Linked DNA regions of Homo sapiens: all the other regions are linked to region 3. The links are contacts of gene promoters, found by promoter capture Hi-C in human tissues and cell types (Jung and others, 2019). All regions are on one chromosome and are shown on one strand. The core of a region is centred on a gene start or on the middle of the fragment in contact, and the rest is flanking DNA. Distances in the headings are between cores, read along the strand shown. Region 1 holds the start of RRP1 (ribosomal RNA processing 1). Region 2 has its middle 5.3 kb from the start of CSTB. Region 3 holds the start of AGPAT3 (1-acylglycerol-3-phosphate O-acyltransferase 3).

Region 1 (3,705 bases), core at 1,141-3,640, 76 kb after region 3:
ATGCCAGTGCTGCTGCAGTGCACGGCTCAGTCAATCACATCAACACCTCAGCAAGTGTAAGACTCACCTAACAAAGGCCCAGGCCCACCAGCCGTGCCGAACCAAGCGTCAAGGCTATACGACCTCCCCACGGTCTCTGGCCATATTAAAACTGGGTTGACCAGGCCGGGCGCGGTGGCTCATGCCTGTAATCCCAGCACTTTGGGAGGCCGAGATGGGAGGATCACTTGAGCTCAGGAGTTCGAGACCAGCCTGACCAACATGATGAAACTCTGTCTCTACTAAAAATACAAAAAATTAGCCAGGCATGGTGGCAGGTACCTGTACTCCCAGCTACTTGGGAGGCTGAGGCAGGAAAATTGCTTGAAACCAGAAGGCTGAGGTTGCAGTAAGCCGAGATTGAGCCACTGCACTCCAGCCTGGGCAACAAGAGCGAAACTCCGACTTAAAAAAAAAAGAAAAACTGGGTTGACCAGATGCCCATCCATCCTCCCCCGCTGCTTCTGTACCTGCTCTGCTGCTCCCCCCACTCACCTGGAGGAGTGGCTTGTCCTGCATCCACATGCAATAAAACAGTCCTTTCCACACCTTCAGCAGCTCGTCGTGCGTAAAACCACCTGCATCAAAACAGCAACGGTTGGACCAAATGAATCCCACACCTTCGAGTGCCAGAAAGGAAGCCACAGAAACGTGACTGCCTGAATGAGACCAAAGTCCCACTTACGGTAAAGGCAACTGGGGGGCAGAATCTGGCCCTCCCCTTCAAACAATCCTTCTAACCCAGAACCTGCCGCGCCTGTGGCTATGCGGCTACTCCAGGTAACTGCTACTTCACGCACACAGTAAAACCGACTGAGATCTACAAGGTATCAGGCACCATACTCCATTTTGGAAATTCAAAATTGCGAACCTTGACGGTTTCCTAAGCTGGACAGTGGCCACAAGGTTAATCTGTTGGTGATAATTCATCCAGCATTATACTGAGGGCTTCTGCACTCTCCTGTAATATATCTCAAATACTAAAAGAAGAAAGTGAACTCAGGCATTCAGACTACGAGAGAAACAGAAATTACTGAGGCCAGGTGCGGTGGCTCACGCCTGTACTCCCAGCACTTTGGAATTGAGTGCTGAGGCAGGATCACTTGAGGCCAGGAGTTCAAGACCAGTCTGGGCAACATAGGAAGACCCCAATTTGTACAAAAAATACAAAACTTAGCTGGCCTGGCCGCACGGTGCCAGTAGTCCCAGCTATTGGGGAGGCTGAGATGGGAGGCTCACTTGAGCCTGGGAGGTAGAGGCTGCAGTGAGCTGTAATCGTGCCAATGCACTCCTCCACCACGGATGACAGTGAGGTCTGTCTCACTCAGAAAAATAACAAAAAATTTTAATTTAAAACATTACTCAGTTGACATTCACTGAAGTCCTATGTGTCTGGCAACCTGTTCCTGCAGCAGTGGTTCTCAGGCTGAGTGTGGGGAGCAGAAGCACTTGAACAGCTTCATAAAGCAGATGCCAGTCCTGATTTAGTAGGGCTGGGATCCTAGAACTTGCATTTCTTTCTTTTCTTTTGCGATGGAAATGGAGTCTTGCTATGTTGCCCAGGCTGGACTCCTGGGCCTTTGTGATCCTCCCACATCGACGTGCCAAGTAGCTGGGATTACAGGCTTGGGCCACTGCGCCCGGCATAGAACGTGTATTTCTAACAAATGTCCAGGGGATGCTACTGCTGATGGGGGACCACGCTCGGAGAACCACCTGGTACCATGAACAAGAAGTAGATTCTCGGCCCTCAGAGAGGTACTCTCGAGTGGAAATCGGAAAACAATCCAATAATTAACGCAAAACAGAAAACTGCAAACAGTGGGAAATGCTGCCATGAGGGAAAAATACTGGGTGCCCAAACAGCAGGGCAGCAGGAGTACATGGTCTACTGGAGGGAGGGGACGCCTGAGCTAGGAAAGGGGTTACGGGGCTGGGGAGGAGCGTTCTCGCAGAGGGACCAGAGTCACCGCACCACGAGGGAAAGCGGCGGCGGGGGCCGTGGGCCGGTAACAGCGGGAACAGGCCAGTGGACCCCGCCTGCCCGGCCCGGCCACGTGGAGGTTCCACAGGGCTCGGAGGGCCCCCAGCTCCGGCCGCCGCCGCCCACACCCGCACCAGCCCAGCCGGCCCCCGAGACGCCAGCCGCCCACACCCCCGCCAACCTGCGGCCCGCTGAGTCCTGGCGACGATGTATTTCCGGAGCTTCCTCACCGCCCGGTCCCGGGTCACCTGCTCATTCCCCGCCAGGCGCTGAGCCAGCTGGATCTCAGGCGGGAGCTGCACGCGCGAAACCATGACGCCGACGGCCGAGACCCCCTGTCCCGGAGTCGCCTGGTACCCAGCACACTGAGCACGCGCCTCCTGCGCCCGCCTCCTCCTGGCCCCGGCGCGTGGCGTGACGTCACAGCCCGCGACACCGCCCAGGCGCACGCCACCGCCGCGCAGTGGCCGAGCCGCGCAACTGCAGCCCCCGGAGGCCGAAGGCTACAGAGGGGGCGCGCGCTCCCTGCCTGTGCGCATGGGCGGAACCAGCGAGCGCGCGCCTGCGCCTGCGCCTGCGCCTCGCTGGGGCTGCGGTGGGTCGGGATTCTGAGGCAAAGATCTGTTGTTTTTTAATCTCATTTTATTTATAACCCCACTTGTATTTTTTTCCTGAGACAGGGTCTCGCTCTGTTACCCACGCTGGAGTGCAAGGCGCGATCTCGGCTCACTGCAGCCTTTGCCTCGCGGGCTCCAGGGATCCCCCAGCCTCAGCCTCCCGAGGAGCTGGGACCACGGGCGCCACCACTCTCGGCTCGAAACTTTATTTTTAAAACCAGGGGTGTGCCGGGCGCGGTGGCTCACGCCTGTAATTCCAGCACTTTGGGAGGCTGAGGCGGGTGGATCACGAGGTCAGGAGTTTGAGACCAGCCTGACCAACATGGTGAAACCCTGTCTCTACTAAAAATACAAAAATTAGCCAGGCGTAGTGGCGGGCGCTTGTAATCCCAGCTACTCAGGAGGCTGAGGCAGGAGAATTGCTTGAATCCGGGAGGCGGAGGTTGCAGTGAGTCGAGATTGCGCCGCTGCACTCCAGCCTGGGCGACAGAGTGAGACTCTGTCTCAAAAAACAACAACAAAAAAAAAAACGGGGAGGCTGCATTTGGCCTAGGGCCACAGTTTGACATACCCTGAAGTAGAAAAATATTCTTTATTTTTAGAAATAACTGCAGAACTCTTTGGTAAAGGTGACCTGTCATGATGTCTGTAATTCATTCTGCAAAAAAGTAAATCATTACACGCACATATGTGTATGCAGATAAGCAACTATGGCACACTGTTAACAGTTGTGGCGTTGGCCGGGCGCGGTGGCTCACGCCTGTAATCCCAGCACTTTGGGAGGCCGAGGCGGGCGGATCATGAGGTCAGGAGATCGAGACCATCCTGGCTAACACGGTGAAACCCCGTCTCTACTAAAAACACAAAAAATTAGCTGAGCGTGGTGGCGGGCGCCTGTAGTCCCAGCTACTCAGGAGGCTGAGGCAGGAGAATGGCGTGAACCCCGGAGGCGGAGCTTGCAGTGAGCCGAGATCGCGCCACTGCACCCCAGCCTGGGTGACAGAGTGAGACTCCGTCTCAAAAAAATACAAGTGTGGCGTCTACAGGCAGGAATACAGGTCTTCA
Region 2 (3,934 bases), core at 1,221-3,720, 95 kb after region 3:
GGTGGGTGCAGTGAGCCGAGATCGTACCTCTGCACTCCAGCCTGGGTGGGTGACAGAGTGAGATCCTATCTCAAAAAAAAACCAAAAAGAAAACTGAATCATGGACTGTGTGTATTCTACACTCTTAACATGAACTCTGAGACTAAGCTTTTATAACATGCAAAACAGAATCAAGCAGTTTTGCATTGAAAGGAAAACCCGTTGTATTTCCCACTTGAGAATTTCCAGCGGAAGGCAGGTGGGGGAGGGGCTGTTTAGGGGACCACGCAGCGGGAGAGCCATCCCCAACAGGAAGGGAGCGGTTGTCTGCAGGAGCAGTGACCAGGAACTCCTATGGGGCACCTGGGTTGGGGGAAGCTGGATTTAGGGTTAGAAGCTTGTGTGTAAACAGGAAATATCAGTGTAAAACAGAAAATAAAATATGTAATTAATGCTGTGGTCTGGTTTAAATACAAGTTGACAAAGGGATCAAAATTACAGGCTCACGCCTGTAATCCCAACACTTTGGGAGGCTGAGGTGGGTGGATCACTTGAGGTCAGGAGTTCCGGGACCAGCCTGACCAACATGGTGAAACCCCATCCCTACTGAAAAAAATAAAATAAAATACAAAAAACTAGCCAGGCAGGTGCCTGTAATCCCAGCTACTCAGGAGGCTGAGGCAAGAGAATAGCTTGAACCCAGGAGGCAGAGGAGGTTGCAGTGAGCCGAGATTGCACCACTACACTCCAGCCTGGGCAACAGAGTAAGACTCCGTTTCTCTCTCTCTCTCTATATATATATATAATTTATATGAAGTTGTCAATTTCATCCACACGCTGTCTGCTTCCTTAGGAGCATCAACAGCAGCAGCTTGGAAATCTGATGAATTTCACTACCCGCTGACAAAAGTCCCTTGTTACCGAACCCCCCGCTGGTTTAACCGAACCCCCCGCTGGTTTAACCCTGCCCTCTGAGAGTGCATTAGGAGCTCTGATATGGTGTGGCTGTGTCTCCACCCAAATTTCATCTTGAATTATAGCTCCCATAATCCCGTGTCATGGGAGGGACCTGGTGGGAGGTCATTGAATCATGGAGGTGGTTACCCTCATGCTGTTCTCGTGATAGTGAGTGAATCCTCATGAGATCTGATGGTTTCATAAGGGGCTTTCCCCGCTTTTGCTGGCACGTCTCCTTCCTGCCACCATGTGAAGAAGGATGTGTTTCCTTCCCCTTCTGCCATGATTGTGTTTCCTGAGGCCTCCCTAGCCATGCTGAACTGTGAGTCAATTAAACCTCTTTCCTTTATAAATTATCCAGTCATGGATATGTCTTTATTAGCAGCATGAGAATGGACTAATACAGGAGCTCAAAGTGGATGAGGCACGTAGTAGGGGAAGAATGAAGTCAGCTCGGACTCCCGTGGGGCTCACAGCATGGGGGCGGTGACTGTCACTGTCACGGATGTGAAATTGTACCAAGTGCCCTAAGGGAGGGTCCTGCTGGGGGTAAACGGGGATCTGACAGAGGTGCAGAAGGCTTCTGGGCAGAGGCCATGGCCAAGTTCAGACCTGAGGCTTGAGGAGGAGGAGCTAGAGGCTGAGGTGGGTGAGACCGTCCTGGCGCCAGCAGCAGAGAGTGGGGAGTCCAGGTTGGGCAAGAGCATGGCGCATTCTGGGAGGCGGCTGAATGCCTCATAGCCACGACGTCACGGCAGCTGCCCTGGAGGGGCCCTGAGTCCTGGGACAGAGCAGGAGCAGAGCCCCTGGTGTGCCCAGCAGTCTGGAGGGCGGGACGGGCTACCCTGAATGAATTAAGACGCTGGATCTCCAGGACACTGATGGCTTAGGTCCTTCCCCATCCTGGAACATGAACCAGAAAACAGAGGCCTACGTGCTGGGACCTGCCATGAGCCACTTCCCCTCCAGACCCCTGAGAGCCAGAAAGAAAACGTGGAGGTCTTACTCATGGTTCGTTCAGGCATGTTTCCCCAAAACTGCCTCGGCAATGTTAAAAATGGCTTGAGCTTTGGGAGGCCGAGGTGGGAGGATCACTTGAGCTCAGGAGTTTGAGACCAGCCTAGGCAACAGAGTGAGACCCCTATCTCTACAAAAAATAAAAAATTAGCCAGGTTTGGCGACACACACTTGTAGTCCCAGCTACTTGGTAGGCTGAGGTGGGAGGATCATATCATTTGAGCCGGGAGGTCGAGGCTGCAGTGAGCCATCATCACACCACTGAACTCTGGCCTGGGTGACAGAGAGAGATCCTGTCTTGAAGATAATAATAATAATAAATAAATAAATGAAAACGGCAAGGGGAGCCAGGGCAGCAGAGGCCTACAACCCCCTCCAGGGGCAGCCCCTCTCCTGCAGTCCGCCCTACAGCCTGGGCGCCTGCTCAAGTCACAGGTAGGACGGGAAGGTGGAGGGGTGGGTGCGCAAAGTCCAGAACGTGCAGGAGCCCAGGACGGCCTGGCCTGAGCTCCCCGTTTGTAACGCGGGCCCCGTCCTGAAAGGGAACACCGCTTCCACACGCTGGACACCAAACGCTGCTTGAGTTGCTCCTGTGAGTGCTGCCTGTTTCCACTGGGGCCCTGGCTGATGGAAATGCACTCAACAGATGCTAGGCAAGGAACCGCCCCACGCTGAGAGCGCAGACCCTCACTCTGAAGCTCCTGAGGCAGGCATGCTCCCTGGGCTGAGCAGGCAGCTGCGGGTCCCCAGCCAGCTGTCACTCACTCTCGAGTGACAGTGTCATCTTGGTTGGGTCTCCTACCCTCCACCCCGAATTCTCAGCGAGCATCACTTTTCCCAAAGCTGGTAGGGTTTTTTTTTGTTTTTTTGTTTGTTTGTTTTTGAGATGGAATTTCACTCTTGTCACCTGGGCTGGAGTGCAATGGTGCTATCTTGGCTCACTGCAACCTCCACCTCCCGGGTTGAAGTGATTCTCCTGCCTCAGCCTCCTGAGTAGCTGGGATTACAGGTGCCTGCCACCATGCCTGGCTAATTTTTGTATTTTTAGTAGAGACCGGGTTTCACCATGTTGGCCAGGCCAGTCTCGAACTCCTGACCTCAGGTGATCCACCCCCTTCAGCCTCTCAAAGTGCTGGGACTATAGGCGTGAGCCCCCACTCCAGGCCTGGGTTTTGTTTTTTTGAGACAAGGGTCTCACTCTGTTGCCCAGGCTGGAGTGCAGTGGGGCCACCATAGCTCACTGCAGTCTCGACCTCCCCTAGCTCAGGTGATCCTCCTGCCTCAGCCTCCTGAGCAGCTGGAACTACAGATGCATGCCACCTTGTTCTGCTAATTATTTGTGTTTTTTGTAGCAACGGGGTTTCGCCATGTTTCCTAGGCTGGTCTTGAACTCCTGAGCTCAAGTGATCCACCCACCTCAGCCCCAAAATGTGGTAGGCTTACAGACGTGAGCCGCCGCGCCCTGTGCCTGCAGGTTTTGCTGGCCATGTGTTCCCGATCTGGCAGAACAGAGCAGCCAGGCTCTGTGTTAGCTGAGGTTCTGTCTGTGTAGACAGGGTCTGGGTGGGGGGAGCCAGGCAAAGCCAACAGTATCCTTACCAGCCCAAAGGAGCTGGGAGATGCCACCACAGCCTTACTCAGTCTCTCCTCTAACTGCTGTCAGGAAACGTGCGTTATGAAGCAGGGCCAACTGATGGAGATGAGAATAGATTCCCACTAGATTAGAGACAGAATAACATAATTGGATGCAAATTGTGCAAAAGATAAAATTGTAGGCTTGAGTAATCTAATCATTCCACTACCAGGTAGAGCGTCTAAGATTTCCTAATTGAGCTGCCCAGAAGCGGTGTTAATTCCCATTTTCTATCCCACAAAAGGCAGGGTCAGGACTCCAACATTTGGATGCTCAGAGCTCGGAGAGCTCCCCACGGCACAGCCAGGCCCTGGTTGGGCACAGTCCCTGACCATCGACTGAGCTCAC
Region 3 (3,703 bases), core at 1,083-3,582:
TCTTCAGTGCCAAGCACTAGGGGCTCTGCCGTGGGGTCTGCAATGTGAGAGCCTAAGCGGGGCTGAAGATTGATGAACAGGGTAAATGTGATTGGGCAAGTTAAGGACACCCCTCCTCCAAAGGAATCCAGGAAATCAGGCTCTTCTCAAACACACATTCTGATCTTCCCCTTCCCTGTTTAGGAGAATTCCAACATTTCCCACCTACCTCTGATTTGACCAGGGATAGCATCCGTGGACTTTCAGCACCCGGACGGGTCTGTGGAGGTGGGAGTTCCAGGGATGTAAGCCTAAAGGCGGCCCTGCCGTTCCGTGACACAACCTCGGGCAAGTAACTCAAGCCCTGTTGTGTCAGATCACTTGTTTACGAGGTCAAAGTGCGGAGGGGATGGGAGGCAGGTGTATCAGTCACGTGTCTACGGCAGGGACGGAACAGATTACTTTGGTGAATGCTCTTTTTCTAATTTCCAAAATAAAGCCATTACTTTCAGTTTGCTTCCCCAGTCCTGGCACACAGACGCGCGTCCAGGCGCAGGGTGTAGCTCCCCAGCGTGGAGTCTGCACTGGGGCCCCAGCCTGGGGCGGGGCAGCACCCTCCCTCCAGGAAGGCCTGTTCTAGAATCCACACTCCTGGGGACTTTCCCACCCGGCCACACTGCCTTTAACCCAGCAGTCTTCAGGCTGCTGCAGCGCGTCCCCCTGGCAGATACGCCAGGACAGGGCCACGCACAGGTAGGGTGACCACAGAGGGCGGCCACTCCATGAAGTCACCTTCAGAATATTTAAGGCCCCTACACCTTCTAAGGCCAAGGGGCCCTGTTCTGTCTGAATGTCAATGGCATGCAGCTGCTTTTTAGACAATGTCCTCAAGAAGATACTTAAGACTAACCAGAAATGGATACAAGAAGCGAGTTGTAACAGGCACAGGCTAACGCCGAACTCTGTGGGGGAGGAGGATTGGTTGGAAAGAGGGAGGGGGGGCGGCAAAGAAGTGGCCAAATCAAGAGAGTGCTCAGCATCCTCGGGAGACCCCTCTGAAGCTTTCAAACTGAGAAGACGAAGTTCAGCAATTCCTAAGCGAGTCGAGTCGGAGCAGCCGCGCCTGCAATTTAAAAGCTGCAGGATCCTGGGTCCCTCTAGCAGCCTGGGCCCGCCGCCCGCCCCACCTCCCAGCCCCCAGCAGGCTCTCGGCGTTGGCTTTCATTTTTAATAAGAGCCGCATGCTCATCACCCTCTGTCTGGAGGCCAACAGCCCACATCTTTCTTCTACTAAGATCATGTTTCCCAGGAAAAAGAACCCAACTGCTCAAGTATTCTCCTAGACAAAGCTTTTAAAATTGTGCTTTTTTTTTTTTAAAGGTCTGGGAAGCCATTTATAAAAGCATTTTCCCCATGTCACTAAACTTCTCTCAAAGTTAAAAAAAAAAAAAAAAACACTGCACCATTTTTAACTGCCTTCAAATACTAATAACCCTCCTTTCCTAAGTACTTGGGACCAATGTTCCAAGGGTCCTGGGGTGGCCAGGAGTGGGTTTTCGCCCCCACGGCTCTTGCCCCCGGACTGACCCCATCCCCTGACCCGCCCGGTGCAAACGCGCCGCCGGTCTCCGGGCCGAACCCACAGCCAACCCCGGGCCCCGCAGCCCTCCCCGCGCGGAGCGGCAAAAGTGAAACTGCTCCCTTGGCCTGGGCGCGCGAGGAGGAGGCCCCTGGGGGGGGTCCCGGGTCCGCCGCGCCCCGAAACCAGGCGGCGGGCGCGTCCTGTCCACGGGGGAGCCGAGCGGGGCCCGGAGCAGAGTCCAGGACGGAGGGATGGGACGTCCCCGCGGGAACCCACTCGCCCTCCCTCGGCCCGGCCCGGGCCCCTCCCGGGCGCCCCGAACCCCCGGGCCTCCCCGCTGGGCCCAGCGCCACCGAGGCTGCTGCGGGAAGCGGCCGGGGCCTCGCGCTGGACCAGGCCGCCGGGGAGGCCGGGGTTGCGGGGGGCGCACAGGACCCGGGCCCAGACCTCCTCCCGGCCCCGCGCCTTCCCAGGCCCCGCGCCCCGCGGAGCGCGGCCGGCCCATTGCGGCGCGGGGCCCCGGGCGGCCCGAGGTCGGACGGCTGGGGCAGGGGCGACCTCCGGCGGCGGGAGGGCGACCTCGGGCGGCGGCGGGGCGTGGGGGAAGAGGGGGGCGGCCCGACCTCGGGTGGGGGCCTCGGTGCTCACCTGCAGCCGCCGCCACCTGCTCGTCGCGCGGGCGTCCCCGGCGTCGCCTCCGCGGCCCCGCTCTGGCCGCCGCGCTCCTCGGCCCTGGGCCCGGCCCGGCCCTGCGTCGGGGCCTCAGCGAGTGCGGCGCCCGCCGCCCCCGGCCCCCATCCCGCCGCCCTCCGCCCTCCGCCCTCGGCCGCGCCGCCGCCGCCACTTCCTGTGCGCGGCGATCCCACAGTTCCGCCGGCGCGCGCGGGGCGGCCGAGGGACACGCTGGGGGGACACGGGGGAAGGACGCGGGGGGGGACGCGGGGGGACGGCGCGGGGGGGGACGCGGAGGGGACACGGGGGCGACACGGCGGGACACGCGCGCGGAGAGAGGTGTGGGCCGAGGGCGCCGGCGGGGCCGGGCGCGGAGCCTGCGTGGGATCCGCTAACGGACGGGGCTGGGGCCCGGGCTGGGGGAGGGGGCGGGCCGGGACCGCGGGGGGCGCGGGGATCAGGGGGGTCGGGGCTGAACGGGGGGAGGCGGCGAAGGACCAGGCTGGGGTCCCGCGAGGGCTCCCCCGGACCGGGTCGGGGGCAGAGGGGGCCGGGGCGCGGGGTGGGGCCGGGAGGGGCCTCCGAGCTCTGCCTGGGCCCCGCCATCTCCCCTGCCGGGGTCTCCTGCGGGCGCCGGGGAAGTTTCGCGCGCGAGCTCCTGCCCTGGTCGGCCGGGGCTTAGGGTCGCCGTCAGGGGTCGCCGCGCGGCGGGCTCGGTGGGGACGGCCCTGCGCGCAGCGGCTCCGCGGAAGGATCGCGTTTCGGCCCACGTGCCGCGCCCTTGGACTTATTCATAGTTGGCACCCGGCTGGCAACACTGTATCGACACTTGACCGTGGCGGGGGTGGGGGTCGCCCCGGGGCTGCCCTGCGAACCCCCGCGGGCGCTGACGCCGTCCCCTCCAGACCGCGGAGCCCTCTCAGCCCCAGGACAGCGGCTGCCGTCCCCCCTCCCTTGCACCTGGCCAGCGGCCGATCCCAGAACCTGCGGAGGCCGCGCAGGTGCCGCTGTCAGGGCAGGGCCCGCTGCGGGCTCCGCCTCCTGCGCCCGGTACCTTGTGTGACCTGGCGCCTGCTCAGGTCCTCAGGCCCCGGCTGGACTTGCTGAGCTTGGGTGGGCTTCATTTGAAAACCATTTAAAATACCAAGTACTGGTACTGTCTACTGTGCCCCTTTTTTTCCTTTTTTTTTTTTTTATTTTTATTATTATTGAGACAGGGTCTTGCTCTGTCGCCCACCCTGGAGTGCAGTGGTACAATCATAGCTCGCTGAAGCCTTGAACTCCAGGGCTCAAGTGATCCTCCCACCTCAGCCTCCCAAGTAGCTGGGACCACAGGCACACACCACCATGTCTGGCTAATTTAAAAAAAATTTTTTTTGTAGAAATGGGGCCTCACGGTGTTGCCCAGGCTGATCTCGAACTCCTGAGCTCAAGTATTCTCCCACCTCCTCCTCTCAAAGTGCTGGGATT

What was found. The method cuts DNA at HindIII sites, captures the fragments that hold promoters and counts their contacts. A contact is called where the count stands out against the background at its distance.
Region 1: a contact is called between the fragment with the promoter of RRP1 here and the fragment with the promoter of AGPAT3 in region 3, in 6 of the 25 tissues and cell types used here (adrenal gland, dorsolateral prefrontal cortex, lymphoblastoid cells and 3 more).
Region 2: a fragment that was not itself captured here is called in contact with the fragment with the promoter of AGPAT3 in region 3 in 3 of the 25 tissues and cell types used here (IMR-90 fibroblasts, dorsolateral prefrontal cortex and lymphoblastoid cells).

What each region holds. Positions count from the first base shown.
Region 1 is chr21:43,788,262-43,791,966 of GRCh38, reverse strand. RRP1 (ribosomal RNA processing 1) reads right to left here and starts at 2,390. Exons shown (of 13, transcript NM_003683.6): 1 at 2,205-2,390; 2 at 535-617. The coding sequence starts at 2,337. RefSeq lists silencers at 1-40, 1,980-2,149, 2,360-2,589 and an enhancer at 2,220-2,329. The HindIII fragment of the contact is 35,062 bases long and covers 1-3,705 here.
Region 2 is chr21:43,769,009-43,772,942 of GRCh38, reverse strand. No RefSeq gene overlaps it. Among named protein-coding and RNA genes, the nearest start is that of CSTB, 5.3 kb to the left of the region's middle. RefSeq lists enhancers at 1,149-2,070, 2,071-2,993, 3,736-3,934. The HindIII fragment of the contact is 6,907 bases long and covers 1-3,934 here.
Region 3 is chr21:43,863,852-43,867,554 of GRCh38, reverse strand. AGPAT3 (1-acylglycerol-3-phosphate O-acyltransferase 3) reads right to left here and starts at 2,332. Exons shown (of 10, transcript NM_020132.5): 1 at 2,210-2,332. RefSeq lists silencers at 1,574-1,893, 2,014-2,363, 2,914-3,273. The HindIII fragment of the contact is 11,781 bases long and covers 1-3,703 here.